Linked DNA regions of Homo sapiens: region 2 is linked to region 1. Evidence: promoter capture Hi-C in 16 types of primary human blood cells and fetal thymus (Javierre and others, 2016). All regions are on one chromosome and are shown on one strand. The core of a region is centred on a gene start or on the middle of the fragment in contact, and the rest is flanking DNA. Distances in the headings are between cores, read along the strand shown. Region 1 holds the start of ZNF451 (zinc finger protein 451). Region 2 overlaps ZNF451 (zinc finger protein 451).

Region 1 (5,716 bases), core at 359-2,858:
CATCTGACACTCAACGAAAAATTCTACAGCTTGAATACCAAACTGCAACTAACTACGGCATTCCAAAAGACGAGTTGGGGACAGAACCGTTTTCTGCCTGGCGAGCTGAGATACCACTTTACGCAAAGCCTTTCTAAAACTCCAATAATTATGGAAGAAAATCACCCCAAAATACATCATAAAACACTCTCTTCTGCTTTGGAAACCCATGCTGTACAAAGTGTGCTCAGAAATCCTTATGTCCCTGCACTTGTCTGAAAATGAAGATTCCTAGGCCCCCGCCTGGAAATTCTGATTCGGTAGGTCTGCAGTGGGGCCCAGGAATCTGCCTGTTTATACTTACTAAGGCTTGAAAACTACTGTCTCAAAGGGAACAAACTCAGAAAAATAGAGCATGTTCCCAGTGATGTAGGATTCTTCATTATGAGCATCAACTGTACTATGCCGTAACATGATGATCTCAGAGGTTAGAGAAATCTTCAAGCTATTTGCCTTCATGTTAGAAGCACCATAACGCTAAGATTCTGGGCTCTCACAACCCTTCCTGTTTTCTACGTCCTTGCTCATCATTAGCAGCTCCTTCCTCCGTGTCGCCTTTAGAAGTTACTCTTGCTCCATTTCAAAACAGCGTTTTAGACACCAGCGTTTTTATCTTAAGTTTAAATGAAAGGCAGGGGGCGAGATTAAGTGTACAGCACGTTCTTTAGGACGTGCTCTTTGTGATGGCTACGGGGGTGGCTCAGATAGCTCTTTTGGTAAATTTCCCAATCCTGCGCCATGCTCCAGTGTCTAGTATGTATTAGACACTCATGAACATTAAATGACCAGGTGAGGTAACATTACATAATGGCCCACCATAGTCTTTTACTCTGGGAAAACCCCAATCATCATTGCTACTTACACTGACAAACTGAATGTCGTCTTCATTTTCATCCGTTGTTGACTCAGATGCCTCAGGGCCAGCTGGAGGGACAGATTCTATTATCTATAAAAACAAGCCAAAACATGCTTATCTGTTCAGCCACATTCGTGTAGGAAGAGAGCGTTTCCGAAAGGAACAATTAAAGACAGAGAGCTCTTGAGGAAAACGAACTGAGCACAATTTCACGGAAACCCGACTAGGAACGGAACTCGAGCTCTGGCTCTTGCCACAGAGTGTGCGGAGCTGCAGGGACCCAACGCTGAAAACGCGTTAGTTACCAGCCTCTCACAATTCCCCTTATCTACTCCAGGAGGAACGCAAGCTCAACACCGAAGGGCAATCCTGCCTTAAAACGTCGCTCCCACTGGCCCAGCCGCGGCCACAACGAACGCCAGGGCCCGTGCGGGGGGCCGGGCGGCCATTGTTGCTGCGGGTTCCTCGCTCAGACACGCACCAGGCCCCAGAGCTGGGCTCGGCCCAAGACACTGAAGAGGTATCGCCCCGAGGCTGCGACGGAGCACCAGGCCTCAGACCGCAGAAAACACAAACCCTTCGCGGTTCGCCTCTGAGAACGCCAGGACCCTCACTCGACTACTCACCTCCGACCCCGGGTCTCCCATGTCTCCGACGGCCGCGCTGACAGCACCACTGCTCCTGCTGTCCCTGCCGCCGCCGTCGCCACGAATCCCCTTCCCGCCCTGCACCGCCTGGCGCTACCGGGACCCGCCCCTGCGTGAGCGCCGACGCCACCGGCGGAAAGAGACGCAAAACCTCTTCAAAGGAGGAGCGGCCCTTACTGGCCCGCTATGCCCCCGGAGCCGCTTTCTCTCACTCCCGGGCTTCCTTCCCCGCGCCGCGCAGGATGCTGGGAATTGTAGTTCGGGTCCGCCCCGAGACCGCCCCTCGCCGGAGAGGAAAAGAACCATGCGCCTAAAAGACGCCAGCTGCAGTGGGTGGGGCGAAGCCAGGGGCCAGCTGGGTCCTGTGAGATAGCGAAGCACTGGGAAGATGTGGGAGGATGTGAAGGAGGGTTTGAGTTGGTATTTGTTTGGTTTTGGTATGGTTGTGAAGCGCAGCTCATTGATTTTTCTGTTTTAGCCCTGAAGGTGGGTGGTGGGAACGGATTTCTCTTTTTTTCCTTTCATTTTTAAATTTATGTATTTACTCATTTTTGAGGACAGGGGCTATGTGGAGGTTTAGCTGAATCCTAGGATCAGGAAAGAATCTGAAGTATCCTTACATTACACACCTCTTCCCTAGCGTCAGTCTCCCAGGCCCTGCCAGTATTAATACACCTGAGGAAGAAAATAGGGATGGGAAATCCAGGGCCCAATAGGAAAGGGAACCGAGGTCTACCTAACTATCACTAAACCCTAGCCAGTGATTTTGAAATGCACTTTTTCAATATTCTCAGATATACTGAGAGAATATGAGAGATCTATTTATAGACTGCTGTAAGGTTGACCTTTTAACCTTTTGTGTGTTCACACTCATAAACCAGTCTATAAAATAGATCTTTTATATTCAACTATGCATTTAATCTGTTCTCAGGTAATACCTTACCAAAAATTTAAAAAGGTTTTTTAAAAAAACACACCAATCGTTGTCAATAAAGTTTATGAAAAGAATTAAGTGATAACATTATTTTAGGCCAGGCGGGTCCTCACACTCTGGGAGGCCGAGGCGGGCGGTTCACTTAAACCCAGGAATTCGAGACCAGCCTGAGCAATAAGAGGGAACCTCGTCTCTACAAAAAATACAAAAATTAGCTAGGCGTAGTGGTCCTTGCCTGTAGTCCCAGCTACTCAGGAGGTTTAGGTAGGAGAATCGCTTGAGGCCGAGAGATTGAGATCCAGGCTGCAGGGAGCCAAATTCATGCCACTGCACTGCAGCCTGGGTGACAGAGCAAGACACTGTCTCAAAAAAAAAAAAAAAAAAACACAAATTATTTAACATCTCAGATTCCTGTTTTTGTTTGTATGCAAAACTACCATCTGATTGCCTAAGCCTGTAGTAATTATTGTTTAATATTTGACATTTCCTGCATTTCCACCAAGTGCTTTATGACTTTAGTTACTTTCTACCTAGTAAGTTTGAGACTTGTGGAAGCCAATTGAGAATGACAGACGTGCATGGGGAGTTCTTCAAAAGCTGTGTGTAAATTAAATATTTTTAAAACGTTAATGTGTAGGCAAAACTTGTATTTAAAAGCTCTTCCTAGTGGGCTGGTGAAAGTGTCCTCTAATATTTAATCAGTTGAGGCAGGAGTTAATGGGTAAAATTCTTGGAAAACAAGCAGTATGTGGCTAGACCCAAAAACTTCTCACACCATACAACTCAGTAACTGTAGTTGCAGGGATTTTCCTGAAGATACATCACAGGTTTTTTTATAACAGCAAAAACTGGAAAATATCTAAATGTCTAATAATTGGGGAATGTAATGTTTAAATTTTGGTATGTATGCTATAAAGATAACATTACAGTGTTTTATCTCCACTGAAAATGTTTACCTAACATTTCTCAAAGCATATTTTTCAAAAATTCAAGAAATATATAGGATAATTAGAACCATGTTGTATTCGTTCTTGCACTGCTATAAAGAACTACCTGAAACTGCGTAATTTATAAAAGAAAGAGGTTTAATTGGCTCACAGTTCCACAGGCTGTACAGGAAGCATGGCTGGGGAGGCCTTGGGAAACTTAAAATTGTGGCAGAAGGTGAAGAGGAAGGAGGAACCTCTTTACATGGGCAGAGGAGGAAGAAAGCAAAGCAGGGAGGTGCTACACACTTTTTAACAACTAGATCTCGTGAGAACTCACTCATTATTAGAGAACAGCAAGGGGGAAATCCGCCCCCATGATCCAATCACCTCCCACCAGGCCCCTCCCCCAATATTGGGGATTACAATTCCACATGGAATTTGGGTGAGGACACAAATCCAAACCATATCACATGTCAAGCCATCAAGAAAAGCATCCCTGAAAGAGAAAACCTACTTAAACAGGAATAGTAATTTATTTTTTTTCTGGGCAGCTGGACTATGTGTTTACAAGAAAATCCAGGCTGGGGGTGGTGGTTCACACTTATAATCCCAGCACTTTGGGAGGCAGGAGGAATGCTTGAGCCCAGGGGTTCAAGACCAGCCTAGGTAACATAGTGAGACCCTGTCTCTGCAAAAAAATTTAAAATTAGCCAGGTGTGGTGGTACATGTGTGTGGTCCCAACTGCTCAGGAGGCTGGAGTGGGAGGATCACTTGAGCCCAAGAGGTCAAGGCTTCAGTGAACCTAATCTCACCACCGCACTACAACCTGGGTAACAAAGCAAGACCCTGTCTCAAAAAAAGAAAATAAAAAGAAAATCCTGGGCCGGGCGTGGTGGCTCATGCCTGTAATTGCAGCACTCTGGGAGGCCAAGGTGGGCGGATCACCATGTCAGGAGACTGAGACCATCCTGGCTAACACGGTGAAACCCCGTCTCTACTAAAAATACAAAGAATTAGCCGGGCGTGGTGGCGGGTGCCTGTAGTCCCAGCTACTTGGGAGGCTGAGGCAGGAGAATGGCATGAACCTGGGAGGCAGTTGAAGTGAGCTGAGACTGCGCCACTGCACTCCAACCTAGGCAACAGAGCGAGACTCTGTCTCAAAAAAAAAGAAAAAAAGAAAATCCTTTGAAGCCCACCAAGAGATTTGAGACATGCTTGTAGTCCCCAAAAGACAGGTTTATTTAGCTTGGTGTAGCCAAAGAGAAGAAAAGCCATAGGCAAAATTTAGGAATCTCCCAGTCTTAGAAAGTTAAGAAGGAATTGGGTTGGGTGATTTTCAGCCAATCTTGGGAAGTGAGGAACTGGTTAGAATTGGAAGAAGCAGCATTGTTTACTGACTGGTTCAAGGTTCAAAATGGAGAATTTAAACTATGGGGAAATGTTCTTTGTGTGATTGAGGAATTTTTTTGCTGTTGTTTTACCTGAGCTGTGAATCCATTATTTTGCCTTATAAGTTAAGATCTTGAAGAGGGCCCATCATTGCGTTGACAACCCCCCTAAATTTAATACTTTTAGACTTTTTCCCAAATGACATCATAATAGATTTCTAGATCTGTATCAGTGACATTATGTTGATATTCTTCCTTCAACTCATTATCATTATGTATCAAAGAAGTCTAGTTTTGTTTTCAAAACTAAAATTTTTCATCAGATCTCCATCGACTGTCTTACTGCTTGTATTGAATGGTAATTTATAGAACCATCTATCTGAACATTGGCTGCTAACAGCATTTAAGACTCTAGAGACTGTGTTCTTGGCCAAGGGTGTGCCACCAAGAGGCAAATTAAATGCATCAGTTTGGAAGCCCTGTTTAGAAACATTATCTGATACTCATAAATTTCAAAAAAGGGAAAGTATCAGTGTTGATATTTTCATCCTGACTACCGTGAGCCTCTAATTTATTTAAGGAACATTCAACATGGACAGAAGAGTTCATGTATACACAGCACAAAATTTTATTAAGGTTTAGTAAAGCACAGATACTTCCAATGCAATTCTATTATTAAGAACTATATTTAGTTTGGATTAAATGCTCTGGTTTTAAGATGTGGAACTGGGCCGGGTGCAGTGGTTCATGCCTGTAATCCCAGCACTTAGGGAGGCCACCGTGGGCAGATCACAAGGTCAGGAGATTGAGACCATCCTGGCTAACACGGTGAAACCCCGTCTCTACTAAAAATACAAAAACAAGGAATTAGCCGGGCGTGATGGCAGGTGCCTGTACTGAGAGGCTGAGGCCTGTAGTGAGG
Region 2 (5,494 bases), core at 897-3,396, 67 kb before region 1:
CTACAGGTTTGAATAATGACAAATCCTTGATTTGTCAAGGATTAACTTGACATGGGGTTGCAAATATTAATATCATAAAAGGTTTCTTTTGCCTCCATCAACCCCATCAGAAGAACAGAGAAAATCGTAAATATTCTTTCTTATTTTCAGTACCTTTGCATGGAATTAATTTTATCAACATATTTTTATAATGGTGCCCAAAGAAACAACCTATAGTTTTCATTAACAGGCTGAGGAAACAACAGGCAGACAGACTTTAAGAAATAAGTTCAACAATTATTTTAGGTAATGCCTAGTCCACAGGCCATGATGCTGCTTCAATCATCTACACTTCCATAGCACCTAGGTGAATGTTTATGCTCTATATGTAAGATGGATTTAAAAATCTGTGTAATTGGTATGACTCATAGATGCCAACCCTACTTACTGCTTCTAACCCACTCATCCACAATGAAGCCACAACTAAATGGATATGACAGTCTCAGGCTTATAAACAAGACCATCTAAGGAGCATACAGATTCAACAAAAATTATCTTGTAGTAACATCTTTTTCATTACATGTAATTCTCAAGGGAGCAGATACTGGCCCAAATAAGAAAACACTGAAAATACTAACTTCTGTGTGCCCTGGAACATTTATATCGATTAAGTGAAAGGTAGAGGAAGCAATGGGAGGCAGGTTTCTAGTGAATTTCTTTGAAACCACATGTTGCAGTACTCCAATAAGCTCACTGCAGTGCTTGTAGTTCTAGTGCCAACATCTCGAGGAGCCTGTAAAGATGGTGTTTATTCATTTAATTATGAGACAAAAGATCCTAAAGAAATTAGAATGCTAATTGCTTTCCTTGGCTATATTCAGCATATAATCACTTTACTTTTTAAAGCACCAGAACTCACAACCAAATCATTTCTTCTGACAAAAAAAAAAAAGCGCATTCTTCCTGAATGTTATTTAAAAATAAAAAACTTGTTTGATATCTTTATATAAACTCTGCAATGTCCCTATACTGTGGCAGAATATTTCCCATTATCTTCATTCTTCAAGGACATGGTTAAAGCCAGTAATTCACACTGGGTGGCTAGCTCTACATCATGGAATCAGGTATTTGTGTCAGTGAAAGTCTCAACCACAGTCGTTGATACTAATGAAAAGCAAAGCACTTGCTCTGTGACTGCAGGTAGATTATTTAACCTTTCTGAACCTGTGCTTCCTTCCACACTTATAAAATGGGGTAATCCAACACCTACTTCGTAGCTTGCAAAGGGGATTAAAAAGCATATGGAAGAAGTTCTTTCAACATATTTAAACATCTGTAAACACTACAAACATAAAAAGCAGTTAACATGGTGGCTGGCACATAGTAGTCTTCAATAAACTACAATAAACTTCAATAAACTTTTTTCAATTAAAAAGTTCACCTTTTTTTTCTTTCAACATTTAAGTGACAAGTTATATCTGCATCTCTGAAACATGAGGCTTGAGTTAGAATAATGAAGTATTTGGGAATAAAATATAAATGGTCTAAGAAAGTCTACCTGGCTTCTCTGATTGGGATTACCAGAAAGGATCCATGTATCTTAAGTGTTAAGAAAGTGAGGATAAGTACAATATAAAATAGAAATGATGAAGGATAAGAAGACCAAGGTGGGGGCAGAAATTAAAGTTAATAGACTTTTTAAATGTCTCTACAAGAATTTATACATATATCATAGCGTAATTAAAATGCTCATGTTGAAACCCTGATGCTTACAAGTAGAGAAAAGAACTTTTACCCTAACTAACCAAGTCAGAGACCTAAAAATGTACCAGTAATAAAGCTACTTAACCTTTCCCCTCCCCACCATGCTAAAACAATGCCTTAGGAACAAATGACTGGACACCGATATACAGAACCAGGAACTCCAAATATCTGTATTTTTACTGAAATAAGTACCTCTGGAAAGACTTTCAATTAACAGAGAAATTAGCAAAGACTAATTTCTCCTAGTATGATACCATATGATCGATTCTGATAACAATATTCAAAAGATCCTTCCTATTTATACAGCAATCTTTAGTCTAATAAAAACCACTTTTTAGTCCTGCTGATGGTAAATTTCTGAAAACTTATAAAGAATAAGAGACTCAAACTTGTATCAACTTCTCTATGCTCTGGTGAAAAATTCAAAAATCTGAAAAATCACTAGCCTGGCTATATAATAACAAATATGAAAGAACTTATCACTGTATGTTACTTATAGCAGGAGTCCCCAACCCCAGGGCCATGGACCAGTACCAGTCTGTGGCCTGTTAAGAACTGGGCCGCACAGCAGGAGGTGAGCAGCAGGTGAGCCAGCATTACCACCTAAGCTCCTCCTCCTGTCAGATCAGCAGCGGCATTAGATTCTCATAGGAGCACAAACCCTATTGTGAACTGCACGTACAAGGGATCTAGGTTGTACGCTCCTTATGAGAATCTAATGCCCCACCTCCTGCCCCCAATCCATGGAAAAATTGTCTTCCATGAAACCAGTCCCTGGTGCCAAAATGGTTGGGGACTGTTGACTTATAGTATAAACTTAGGTTACATCCCAAAGGACAATTTTGTTTGTTGATTGGCATCTAGAAGCGTTGAGACCACAAATCCCTTGAAATTGTATGCAATGTAGTACATACATGTTTATTTTGGGGGATGGAGGGTATAGAAAGTTTTCATCAGATTCTCAAAAAGGTCCAGTGACCCCTTCACCCCAAAAACCACATTGCCTTAAGAAACTGACTGGCTGTCAAATCTGAAAACAAGAAGGAACACCATGTTTAGCTATGTGCAAGGAGTTATCTGGCATTCTTTAGTAACAAAAATTATATTATTAATGGACATTGAGAGATTTATTGAGTCCCATTATACATTAAATACCATTCCTTAATAGAAACTATTACTCAACTATTCACAAAGCTATTTGTTAGGAAAGGAAATGGAATAAAAGTTATCCAAGAAAATGATTTTTCTTTGATTCCTTATAAAGTTCACTACAGGAAATTTGATGGTTTTAAGTCTTCCATGAAGAAAAAATTTGGTCTTAAATCAGATAACTAAGCCTGAACATACTATGATTCAGTGTAACATTAAAAATGTAGTGGCTAGGAATCACATTTTCTTTTTATGGTAGTAATAATAAAAAATAGCTATTATTTGTTAAATAGCTAAAGTGCTTTATATACTGTGCTAGACACTTTACATACATCACTAACTATTACAACCATATAAATACAAAAAAATGAGGCTCCAAAAAAGTTAAGTAACATGCCTGAAATCGCGCTGCTAGGAAACAGCAAAGTTAGCATTTGAACCAAAGCCCATATCCTTCTTCATGCAGTGCACAATCTCTGTATGTCACAAAAACTAAGAATAAAGTACACATGTGCCTCCAGAGAGTAGTTAGTTCAAATGAGTACTGAGTATGAGTGATTAAAAAAAAAAAAAAAAAAAAAGAATACCTAGAACATAAGAGTCATTTGGAAGGGCATAATCAGCAGATATTAATAACCTGTATCTTACCTCCAACTGTAATATACCCATGCAAGTCTACTCGTATTCACCTCTCATTCCAAACAGAATATGGTTTTGCCTCTGCAAAACCATAACAGGTTTCACATTTGGAGTTATAAAAGAAATGTTCCCAAAAGCAGAAGCATAAGAGAAGGAAAGGGAGGTTGGCCTTGTGCGGCAAAGGTAAAACTTTATCTTATAGGATATTAAGTAGATGTTGAGAACTGGGAAAGCGATGGCAAAAGAGTAGAAGAGGTGTTTTGCTTTTTGTTTGAGACGAAGTTTTTGGTCTTATTGCCCAGGCTGGAGCGCAATGGTGCAATCTCAGCTCACTGCAACCTCCGCCTCCTGGGTTCAAGCGATTCTCCTGCCTCAGCCTCCCGAGTAGCTGGGATTACAGGCAACCGCCACCATGCCCAGCTAATTTTTGTATATTTAGTAGAGATGGGTTTTCACCATGTTGACCAGGCTGGTCTTGAACTTCTGACCTCAGGTGATCCACCCACCTCAGCCTCCCAAAGTGCTGGGATTACAGGTGTGAGCCACTGCACCCAGCCTGTTTTTTTTGTTTTTTTGTTTTTTGTTTTAAGAAAAAAGAAAGCCACAGATAGAAAAACAAGTGAAAACAAAAATTACAGAATAGGAAGATAATACTCAGAACTAAGGCATGACATAAAGACACAAGAGTTCATTTTCTTTTATAATCTTCCATCATTACTCCACTTTAAAGAGTATAAAGAGCACAGATTACTGATTCCTAACTTTGCAGAAGTGAATTGATCCACTGTAATCAGTGATTACAGCAAAATTCTCCAGAATGAGTTTTCAATCAAAATGTGCTTCCAAATATATTGAAAGAAAAAAAAAATCTAGGAGGCAAGCAGACTTGAAAGCTTTAAAGGCACACAATAAAAATGCCAAAAAGCCACTATTTTTCATTAAGGTAATTCATTAATATCTTCAAACCTTATTCATGAATTTAAATTATTAGGATATTTAAACATTAATTATTCTATCCATATTTCTTTACTTCAGAGATTATGAAAAAGGGGGTTATAACTCAGTGGTAGAGCATTTGACTGCAGAAATTATGAAAAACGAAAAACAAAACTTCTGAATCCTTAGAATTACATCTTTTCTTATATACTAGGAAGTGAAATTGGGTATCAGCACTCCTTTCATTGAACAATCTCACAAAGGTACAGAAGAAAGTGCAAGTCCCAGCAATAAGATAGGATGTACCCACTTCTCTAAGGACCTAAAAGCCTATCAGCGTTTTATTTTGTCACTGTCAACCTCTTAAATGATCACCTTTGTTATTGCTTTCTGGTTTTCACCTCTAAGCGCACTGCTTTCTAAAAAACTGAAGGTCAACTTGGAATTTCAGAAACAAAGTGAAGATCTGAATTCTGAGCTTTTAAAATTGTAGTAACATACTGTAACACATGAATATATGTTTTATATACATCAATATAGATTTTATCTACTAGATCAAAAAAAGCTCCAGAAAATTATTATGAATTCATCCTCCTTCTAAAACACTAAAGAATGAAAGTGAGATTTTTTTAAAAAAGATAAGTAAGATAGAAGTAAGAGAACATGATGGTTTAGCAAGCAGGCAACAGTTCACTAGCGGACAGCAGTTTATTGGTTTCTCTCAGCAGTGAAGTCTCCTCCTCTTGGGTGGTTTGCACTGTGACTGCAGCTGCGTACCTTTGGTGGTATCAGATATGCTATTTAACAAGGCACACATCATATCTCCCTCTAAGTGGTGAGGGTTTAGTATATGAGCTGGCCTCTGAGTCTTCTTAAATTGATTCTCTAGCTCCAGAAAACCTTGATCTCCTGAGAGGATGGTGAAAGGAATTTGCTTGGGTAGTTGTTCATCTAGACGGCCAGCCTAAGTTAGAACAAATGGCACAGGTTGATAAAAAATCAGCATGAGTTTCAAAACAAGTTACAT

Evidence for each region. The method cuts DNA at HindIII sites, captures the fragments that hold promoters and counts their contacts. A CHiCAGO score of 5 or more calls a contact.
Region 2: a fragment that was not itself captured here is called in contact with the fragment with the promoter of ZNF451 in region 1 in 10 of 17 cell types (naive CD4 T cells, naive CD8 T cells, total B cells and 7 more); the score reaches 10.0 in naive CD4 T cells.

The regions. Positions count from the first base shown.
Region 1 is chr6:57,086,080-57,091,795 of GRCh38, reverse strand. ZNF451 (zinc finger protein 451) reads right to left here and starts at 1,608. Exons shown (of 15, transcript NM_001031623.3): 1 at 1,522-1,608; 2 at 902-985. The coding sequence starts at 1,542. RefSeq lists a silencer at 1,550-1,619 and enhancers at 1,040-1,922, 1,790-1,939. The HindIII fragment of the contact is 8,135 bases long and covers 1-5,716 here.
Region 2 is chr6:57,153,798-57,159,291 of GRCh38, reverse strand. ZNF451 (zinc finger protein 451) reads right to left here. Exons shown (of 15, transcript NM_001031623.3): 13 at 5,245-5,431. All of the region lies in intron 2 of ZNF451-AS1 (ZNF451 regulatory antisense RNA 1), which reads left to right. Among named protein-coding and RNA genes, the nearest start is that of ZNF451-AS1, 16 kb to the left of the region's middle. The HindIII fragment of the contact is 4,561 bases long and covers 1-4,426 here.